Linked DNA regions of Homo sapiens: regions 2 and 3 are each linked to region 1. Evidence: promoter capture Hi-C in human tissues and cell types (Jung and others, 2019). All regions are on one chromosome and are shown on one strand. The core of a region is centred on a gene start or on the middle of the fragment in contact, and the rest is flanking DNA. Distances in the headings are between cores, read along the strand shown. Region 1 holds the start of HSPA13 (heat shock protein family A (Hsp70) member 13). Region 2 overlaps ASMER1 (adipocyte associated metabolic related lncRNA 1). Region 3 overlaps LOC105377134 (a long non-coding RNA gene).

Evidence for each region. The method cuts DNA at HindIII sites, captures the fragments that hold promoters and counts their contacts. A contact is called where the count stands out against the background at its distance.
Region 2: a fragment that was not itself captured here is called in contact with the fragment with the promoter of HSPA13 in region 1 in 1 of the 25 tissues and cell types used here (lymphoblastoid cells).
Region 3: a fragment that was not itself captured here is called in contact with the fragment with the promoter of HSPA13 in region 1 in 1 of the 25 tissues and cell types used here (IMR-90 fibroblasts).

Annotation. Positions count from the first base shown.
Region 1 is chr21:14,381,867-14,384,476 of GRCh38, forward strand. It overlaps HSPA13 (heat shock protein family A (Hsp70) member 13), which reads right to left and starts at 1,280. Exons shown (of 5, transcript NM_006948.5): 1 at 1,229-1,280. The coding sequence starts at 1,253. It overlaps LOC105369304 (a long non-coding RNA gene), which reads left to right and starts at 900. Exons shown (of 2, transcript XR_007067924.1): 1 at 900-2,610. RefSeq lists enhancers at 987-1,296, 1,687-1,816. The HindIII fragment of the contact is 8,875 bases long and covers 227-2,610 here.
Region 2 is chr21:14,855,591-14,858,200 of GRCh38, forward strand. It overlaps ASMER1 (adipocyte associated metabolic related lncRNA 1), which reads right to left. Exons shown (of 4, transcript NR_146322.1): 2 at 1,952-2,118. Among named protein-coding and RNA genes, the nearest start is that of ASMER1, 62 kb to the right of the region's middle. The HindIII fragment of the contact is 4,082 bases long and covers 1-2,610 here.
Region 3 is chr21:14,035,797-14,038,406 of GRCh38, forward strand. The region is part of intron 1 of LOC105377134 (a long non-coding RNA gene); the gene reads left to right. Among named protein-coding and RNA genes, the nearest start is that of LIPI, 170 kb to the right of the region's middle. The HindIII fragment of the contact is 6,023 bases long and covers 1-2,610 here.

The sequences.
Region 1 (2,610 bases), core at 30-2,529:
TATCTGGAGCAAAAGCCAGATATAATCTAATATTCTTGATCAATTGATATTTAGATTTTACAGCTTTATAAAAAGCTTCGATTATCTTTTTTTAAAAGCTCCATTATTAAAATTCTCACAAGAAAAACTTTATTATTTTATAAGTCTAAAATTCTCTCCTCGTATCTCACCTCCTTTTCCCTTTCAAAAGGATGAAATGAATAAATGGGATAAAATGATTTTGAAAGTTCCTTAGATATGAAACTGTCACTTCAAAACAGAACACAGTTAACTTTTTATGTATTTAAGTATGAACTAGGGACTTCCTTCTTGCAGTGGTAATATTTAGGGGAGAAGAAGCATAAAGGTGGGCAACCCTGACGGCAACATCTATGAAAGCTTCTTGAAGACAAGTTTCGTTCACTGTTGTATCCCCCAGACCAGGAATAGCAGATGCCCAACAAATACTAATTTAAAAAAAAAAGAAAAAAGAGTAGGAACAAATGCCACGCAGATTGTAAACATAAGCGAAGAAAGATGCCCCTTTAGTTTTTAATGAATCTCGTATTTGGTATCAGGAGGCTGTGTTATACACCTGTGTCCGCTCATATTACATATGACCCAAAACATGAATTTTCAGGGCTCTGTGTTACTAATTGTTAGCTCATCCTCATCAACACATAACTCAAAGAAATAAAACCAAGTGCGAATCCCACTTTCCACTTCCAGCTACAGGCAACATTTCAGAAGCATTTCATCACCTTGGAGACGCGGGGTGGGTGTGTGTGTGGGTGGGGGATAGGTAATTCCAAACCCGATGTGATGGAAAAAGCCTCCAAATTCAGCATCCCTGAGCCGACAGATCCGGATGTAGCTCCTCCCCCTTCCTCCACAAAGGGGTCCTGGAGGTGCACGTTCTCGCAGCCTTCCATAGCTTGCCCCAATTCAACAGGCAATTCAAAAACCTAGGTGCTGTTGAAAGGAACGCCTCCCTAAGCCTGATGTCCCTGGGATGGACACAGCTGGTCGCCGTCTATCCTACCTTGGCCTGCAGGGGCCGGGGCCCTCCTAGAGGCGTCCCCGCCCCCATCCACTCCGAACAGCCGAAAACCGTCTCTAAGTCACCTTTCTGACTCCCCTTCCGCTGCTCCAGCTAGATCCAGGAGGTGAGTCAACCACCCCTGCCCACTCTGGCATCCTCAGATCGCCTCTACGCCCGCAAGAGCAACAAGGACCCCCGGGAACCCACCTAAGATCGTCATCTCTCTGGCCATCACAGTCCCGCCGAACAGGCTTGTGATGACTGTACCAGACGTGAGGCACCGCCCCCACTCCTCCCGGCAGTCCCGCAGCCCCCTGGGAAATGTAGTCCGCTTGCTCTGAGGCAATCGGAGAAGCTATCGCTCTGACCAAAGCAAGGACTTCATCTACCGTGAGGGCGCGGGGCAAAGAGCCTCCATTCAACCGCTGCCAGTGACGACTGAGTCCCCCTTCCACGCAACGGCCGGCAGGACCAGTGAGACTGAGGGGGAGGAGCGCCGTGGCGAGAGACTGGCGTTTATAATCAAACCTGTGGTCCCGCGATCCTACTTGAGGGAAAACAGGCTATCTCTTTAGCCCCGCCCCGCGCTTTGCATTCTGGGAAGCGGAGTTCCAGCCTTTCTCTTTCCGCGGGAGGGAATGAAAGGGAGGGTGAGAACCGTTAGTTATTTCTTTCTTTGGTCGTGCCCCTAATCAGGTCCAGGATTCGAGTTTGTGTTCTTTCGTTTTAATTCCTTTTAAAGCGCGTTCGTTTGCCTGAGATCTAGCTTCTAGATGGCGTTCCTATAGCCTCCCGGAGCCCCAGCCATCCTCCGTAGAAGGGTCCCTGCCGCAGTGCGGGGCCTGAGGGAAGTCGGCTCTGGCGTCCGTGCTCCAACGCTGGGAGCAGCCCTGAAACTCCAGTGACCCTCAGCCGTCTGCCTTTGTTTTGGGATAAATGAATTCAAGCATTCTTCAGTCAATTCGATTTATCCAAGGGATCAGGGACACATTTTCTCTATTGCTAGCACTGACGTGGGCCATTAAAAACAAAAACAAAAACGAAATTAAAAAGAAAACCCTTAGCTCTCTCTTCAAGTAAGTCTTAAGTGGCCAAAATTGACCTTATGGGCAAGTCCTGTAACGTGACAGCCATTTTAGGACGCTTGTGACATGCTGTTCAGGTTCTAGTCTGAAGTAGGATTTTTCTCGCATCTTGGTCACTGGTAGCACTTAATGACTCCTCTGAGAGTGGTTTTGTCATTTTTGCTGTTAGAGTTCACGATAACTAAGATCCTGGAGAATTGAATCCATTTTCTCAGCTTAGATATAAATCAAACCATCCCTGTTGACAACACGTCAGCCTGCTGTGGGAATACATTGCTGGTTATTTCTGACTTATCAATGTGAATTTTGATTATGGAAGCTGAATTCTGGTTGATAGGGATCCATTGTAATGTTCTCTCTACTTTTGCGCATTTTTAAGTATTTCATAATGCGAAATATAAAAAGTGTGTGTCTATAGTGAGTGCTGTTCAATAAGATTCTTATAAGGAGTGAAGAATTCAAGCACTTAGTTCTTAAGTATTACTTGTAATGGGCAGTGGGCTG
Region 2 (2,610 bases), core at 58-2,557, 470 kb after region 1:
TTTTAAGTCATTTAGTTTGGGGTAATTTATTACATAGCAGCATATAATTAAGACACTAGACATTTTGTTTCTTCGGGATTTTTGTTTTTGTTTTTCTTTATTTTTTATGTTGTTCCAACATGTTTGCTTTTTCCTCTTTTAATAGGTTCAAGAATAGTGAGAAAAAGGAAAATTAAAGTGTTGGAGTAAATGGTTTTGGCAATAATAAAATGTAGATTCAATTTTTTTGATATTTAAGAATGAAATTTTGTAAGAGATATTTATTTTTAAAGGGAGCTGCTCTAGAATCTAGACATTAATATGTCCCCAAAATGTGTTTACAGATTTCTCCATTCACACACACAAAATCTAATTTCTACCTTAGTTTACAGAAATCCACCCTTTGTGTAAGGTGAGTTATACCTAACAGAAGTTTATCACTTTCTTATTAAAGAACTCTATGTCTTTGGTCTCTTCTTCCTAATGAATATCAACATTTGAGGAGAAAGATATATAATCAGGAGGGAAAAGTGATCTGAAATAAAGACTTGAATATTGTTATTAGATTTAGACTATGTTAAGATGAATTGCTCTCTCATGGAAAGACTCAATAACTTATGCCTAAGAATAATATAATAATCACAACGATAGCCATATTGTTGTTTTGAATTTGGGTAACAGAAGAACATAGATCTTTAAACTATTAGGCATATCTTTTCTGCTCAAAACAATTTCTTTACATTTTATCCCTTTAAGTCCTTTAAAGCTTATCACACAGAAAAAATAACAGTCTGGGAGAGGAAGACTAAAGAAATCAACTTTCTTCAGAGCACATATAGATTTATTGTAGCCAATTGATGACACTGCAAAACTGGCACAAAGGCAAATACTTAATAAATAAATGAAAATCAGAGTGGATCAGTTCAGTGCTGTATGTTTTGAACCGGGTCCTCAAAGGCAAGTCATCATCAGAAGAAAGAAAAATGCATTTAAGGAGCGTTAATTATTGTCTATCTCCAAGACCAAAATAAAAAAAGCTTAAAACTTTTAGACTGTTAAAAATCTACTATACTAGGATATTAAAGTATTTTAAAGAAAATGAGATTTATGCTTAATAAAAAAATTCCCATTAAACAGCAAACTATTAGAAGAGAAAATCATTCTGAATCTCTACACTTCTCAATCCAAATACAATGCCATGAGCTATAATTCAGTAAAAAGCTCTATATTTTGGATCCTGAAGCTTGACTCATAATTGAAAGGAAACCCTCCTAATTCATGATTGCTTGTCTCACGTACATTACAGAGTAACCTTTACTGTAGTTTCAAAGTTTAAGATTTTATTTACAGTAGTTTTTGCGAGGTCGTCAATTGACACAATGTAGTTGCTATTTGTGAAAGACAACAATTTGAACTGCAACTTGAAATCAATTGGAAACCAGTCCAGTCTCTAGAGGACACTTGCAATATGCTTCACGGGGCTAACCCCATTAAGCATCAAATGCAGCTACAAACTCAGCACACTAAATGAAGCTTTTCTATTGCACAAGAGAATAACTTCACATGAATGACAATTTCTGTAATGCTTAGGCTTGACAAAATCTTTAACCTTAAGTGTAATACTAATCAAAATAATTCCAGGAAATATTGTTTACACATTATCATCTGGAACTAGCTGGTAAGGATTGAGAAGTTTGTCAATAATTAGGTGCTCTGACTTTTATATAACTTATAAGTAGAGTTGTCAACTCTAAAATCTGGGGAGTTTGGTAGCTCTGTTAAGTTGGGGAAAATGTAGATCCCCAGCCTCAGTATTCTCATCTCTAATATGGGAATTCTGGAACAAATGATCCTGTATCGATACACTATTGCTGTACAACAAATTAAGCTTAATGGATGAAGATAACCACTTATTATTTTGTTTCAACTCAGGGACTGGCTCAGCAGCTCTGCTGCTCTGGGCCATGCTCACCTGCTCTCAGCTGGGCTCACTCATGCATCTGCTATCAGCTGGCTGGTTAACTGTAGTTAGTTCATCTTGATGGCATCATTGGGGAAACTCAGCTCTCTTTCACTGGACTTCTCTTATATTTCTCCAGCAAACTGGAAAGGGTGTGTTCTCGTGGCAGGGGCAGGAGTCTACAAAAGAAAGCAGAAATGCAGAAACACATTTCAGGCTTCTGCTTGCATCAGTTCCACTAAAATCCCATTGTTCTCGTCATGTAGCCAACTTAGAATAAGAATGGGGAGGTCACTACCAAAGGGCATGAAATAGAAAGGCATGAGGCATGGAAAATTAGATCCATTAGTATAATCACCTTACAATAATCTTAAAGTTGCTTTTCTGCAGATAATTGTTTGAGTATAGGTTTTTTAAAAGAGGCATCCAACACAAAATACTGGAAAATATACTGTGAGTGAGGAGGGAATATAAGAGAAAGAAAATCAACTACCTCTTCTCTGCCAATAAGTCTTTGTGTAATTAGATATGAAAGGCCCACACTTGAAAAAAGATCAGATATATTTTAATTAAAAGTGAGTACCTTACAACTGACTGATCTACTTTTCATGCATTTTTCTCTTAACATTTTTCTGTCAAAGTTTTTCAAAATATAATAACCAAACAAGGAA
Region 3 (2,610 bases), core at 61-2,560, 350 kb before region 1:
CATTCATTACACTGTAAAAAATGAATTAAATCCTTTATTATACAAGCATCTTAGACAGAAATCAAATGTAATTCATCGCACATGCTGTCAGCTAATTAAAGTATTTGTACCACAGATTCCTCAGCCTTTTATATAAACTTGGAGGAGCACTGGGGTCTTATTCCAGGAGAAAAGCAAATGAATCTGCATTTTCCTCTTATTTAATTTATGCCACAATAACAGTAGCTTCAGTGCAGAGCTGCAGCTTCAAGCTTTACATTTACCCTGGAAGGTAAATGTGCACCTTCCGAAAACTGCCTGCAAGTAAAAAGAAGGAAATTACACGTTAAAAAATTTTTAAATTGGGAAGAACTGGTTTTTCCTCCTCCTGCTACATTCAGAGTTCTGTCTTAAGTATCATTCCCCCTCACCTTGCTATTTACTTTTCTCCTGATCTCAGCCCAGTGGGAACTGAGATACTGGAGAAAGTCTATTTTTTCCCTAGTTTTACAGTGTGACAGAAGAAAGTTTAAGTGATAGGCAAATGAAGGAAATGCAAGTCCTCAATATTCAGAACTAATTTACCAGGTTCTTGGCATGCTGAGAAACTCACTAGGTTTGTGGTCTTTTTGTGAATAAGAGCACATTTTCACCTAGGACTGGCAGGTGGTCACAGCTCAGCTAAAGAGAGTCCCATTAGACAGCTCATTCTGCTGTCATGTAACTAAGTGATTTTTTTCCCTGAAAGTTTATGTACTATATTCTATATAGAACACTATATAGAACATTTGCGCCTCATGCAGGGAACTGTTATTGTGGCATAAATTAAATTTAGCATTTTGACTTAAAAATTATTGGGCAAGTACTGTGTGCAGGATGCTCCTAAGTAATTGGCAGTGGCTATAAATACTTTAAGCAATTTTTCCAACCCTATGCTGGGAAGAATTCCTGCCACAACATATCATAAAGGTAGTAAGGGCAGTAAAGAGCCCTAGAAGCTCAGTGTTGAAAGAAACATCTACCGGTTATCTAGTGCAGCTACCTTCTGATGCTTAAATTCGCTTCTGCAATAGAAGGGTTGAATGCTAGTTTAGTCTCTGCTTGACTGTCTGTGGGGACAGGGAGCTCTCCACTTGATGAAAGATCTTTAGACCTCTGAGACACCTTAGTATGTTTGTGTTCTCACCCCCTTATTTCATGGTATATCCTTTGGTTTAACATAACAAGTCGATTCCCTCTCCCACATTAGGTCCTTTTACATACTTTAAGATACTTATTTTTAATTTTCATGACATTTCTCTTATAGCTTAAAAATCCCAGGCTATTTATTATTATTATATTATTTTTCTCATATATAACATGGCTTCCAAGTCTTAACTTACCTGGTCATTTTTCACTAGATGCTAAGTTGTCTCTTTTCATCTTAAAGAGAGATTCTTAACACAGCATCATTCTCAGGCATGGCCAGACCTGTAGGGAAGAAGGTAGAACTTACTCTTTATCCCACTTTAAATATTCTGCTTTTATAAATAGAGCCCCCATTTTTATTAATTATTGAATCTGGTTGGATTGCCACATAATGTCTTTTCATACTGCTTTGCAATACTTCAGACATACTTGTATGGAATCTGAACATTAATGTTTCCCATCAGGATGAAAGAATAAAGGGACTAAGATAGTACACTCTTGAATTACAAGCTAAGTCTTTGTATTAGTCTTTTTTCATGCTGCTAATAAAGACATACCCGAGACTGGGAAGAAAAATAGGTTGAATGGATTCACAGTTTCACATGCTGGGGAGGCCTCACAATCACGGCAGAAGGCAAAAGGCACTTCTCACATGGCAGAGGCAAGAGAGAATGAGAGAGAAGCAAAAGTGGAAACCCCTTATAAAACCATCAGATTTTGTGAGACTGATTCACTACCACGAGAACAGTATGCGGGAAGTCGCCCCGGTGATTCAGTTATCTCCCACAACACGTGGGAACTATGGAAGTACAATTCAAGATGAGATTTGGGTGGGGACACAGAGCCAAATCATATCAGTCTTAATTTGAATCTGAAGCTTGCCCAGCATTTTCTCACGTCACCTTAATTTGCAAAAGTGGAGCTTGGGTGAAATGAGGAATGAAAGTAAGAGAGAAAGAGAAGGAGGTCATATTGAGTGTAAAAAATGTGGCAATATAATACAGGAGAAAAAATGTTTGCTGTGGAATATTAGGGGAAAAATAACACAACAAATGAGTTCTAGTCCGTGAGCTCTCATTTGTCAACCCTGTTGATTTTGGGAAACATAGATAAGTTATCTGATCTTTAATTTTGTGATTTTTGAAGTGAAAAACACTATAATATTGCATAAATATAATGGAAATAATCAAATGAGATATTAGGTGAAAGCATTTATCTTATATTCATGTGTAATGCACACGTTCTTTCTTCCTTTCTCATCCTTGCAGTCGCATTCTCTTCCTTTTACGTCTTTCATTCCATTTAGGTGTCAAAACCACAAGTCTGGGAAAGGAATAATATGTAAGAGCAAAGATGCCTACTAGGTGGGCACATAGAGAGCTCCTGGTGGGACAGGGACTGCAAGAGAAGAGCCACTGCTTGGAGAGATTTCTCAAAAACTCT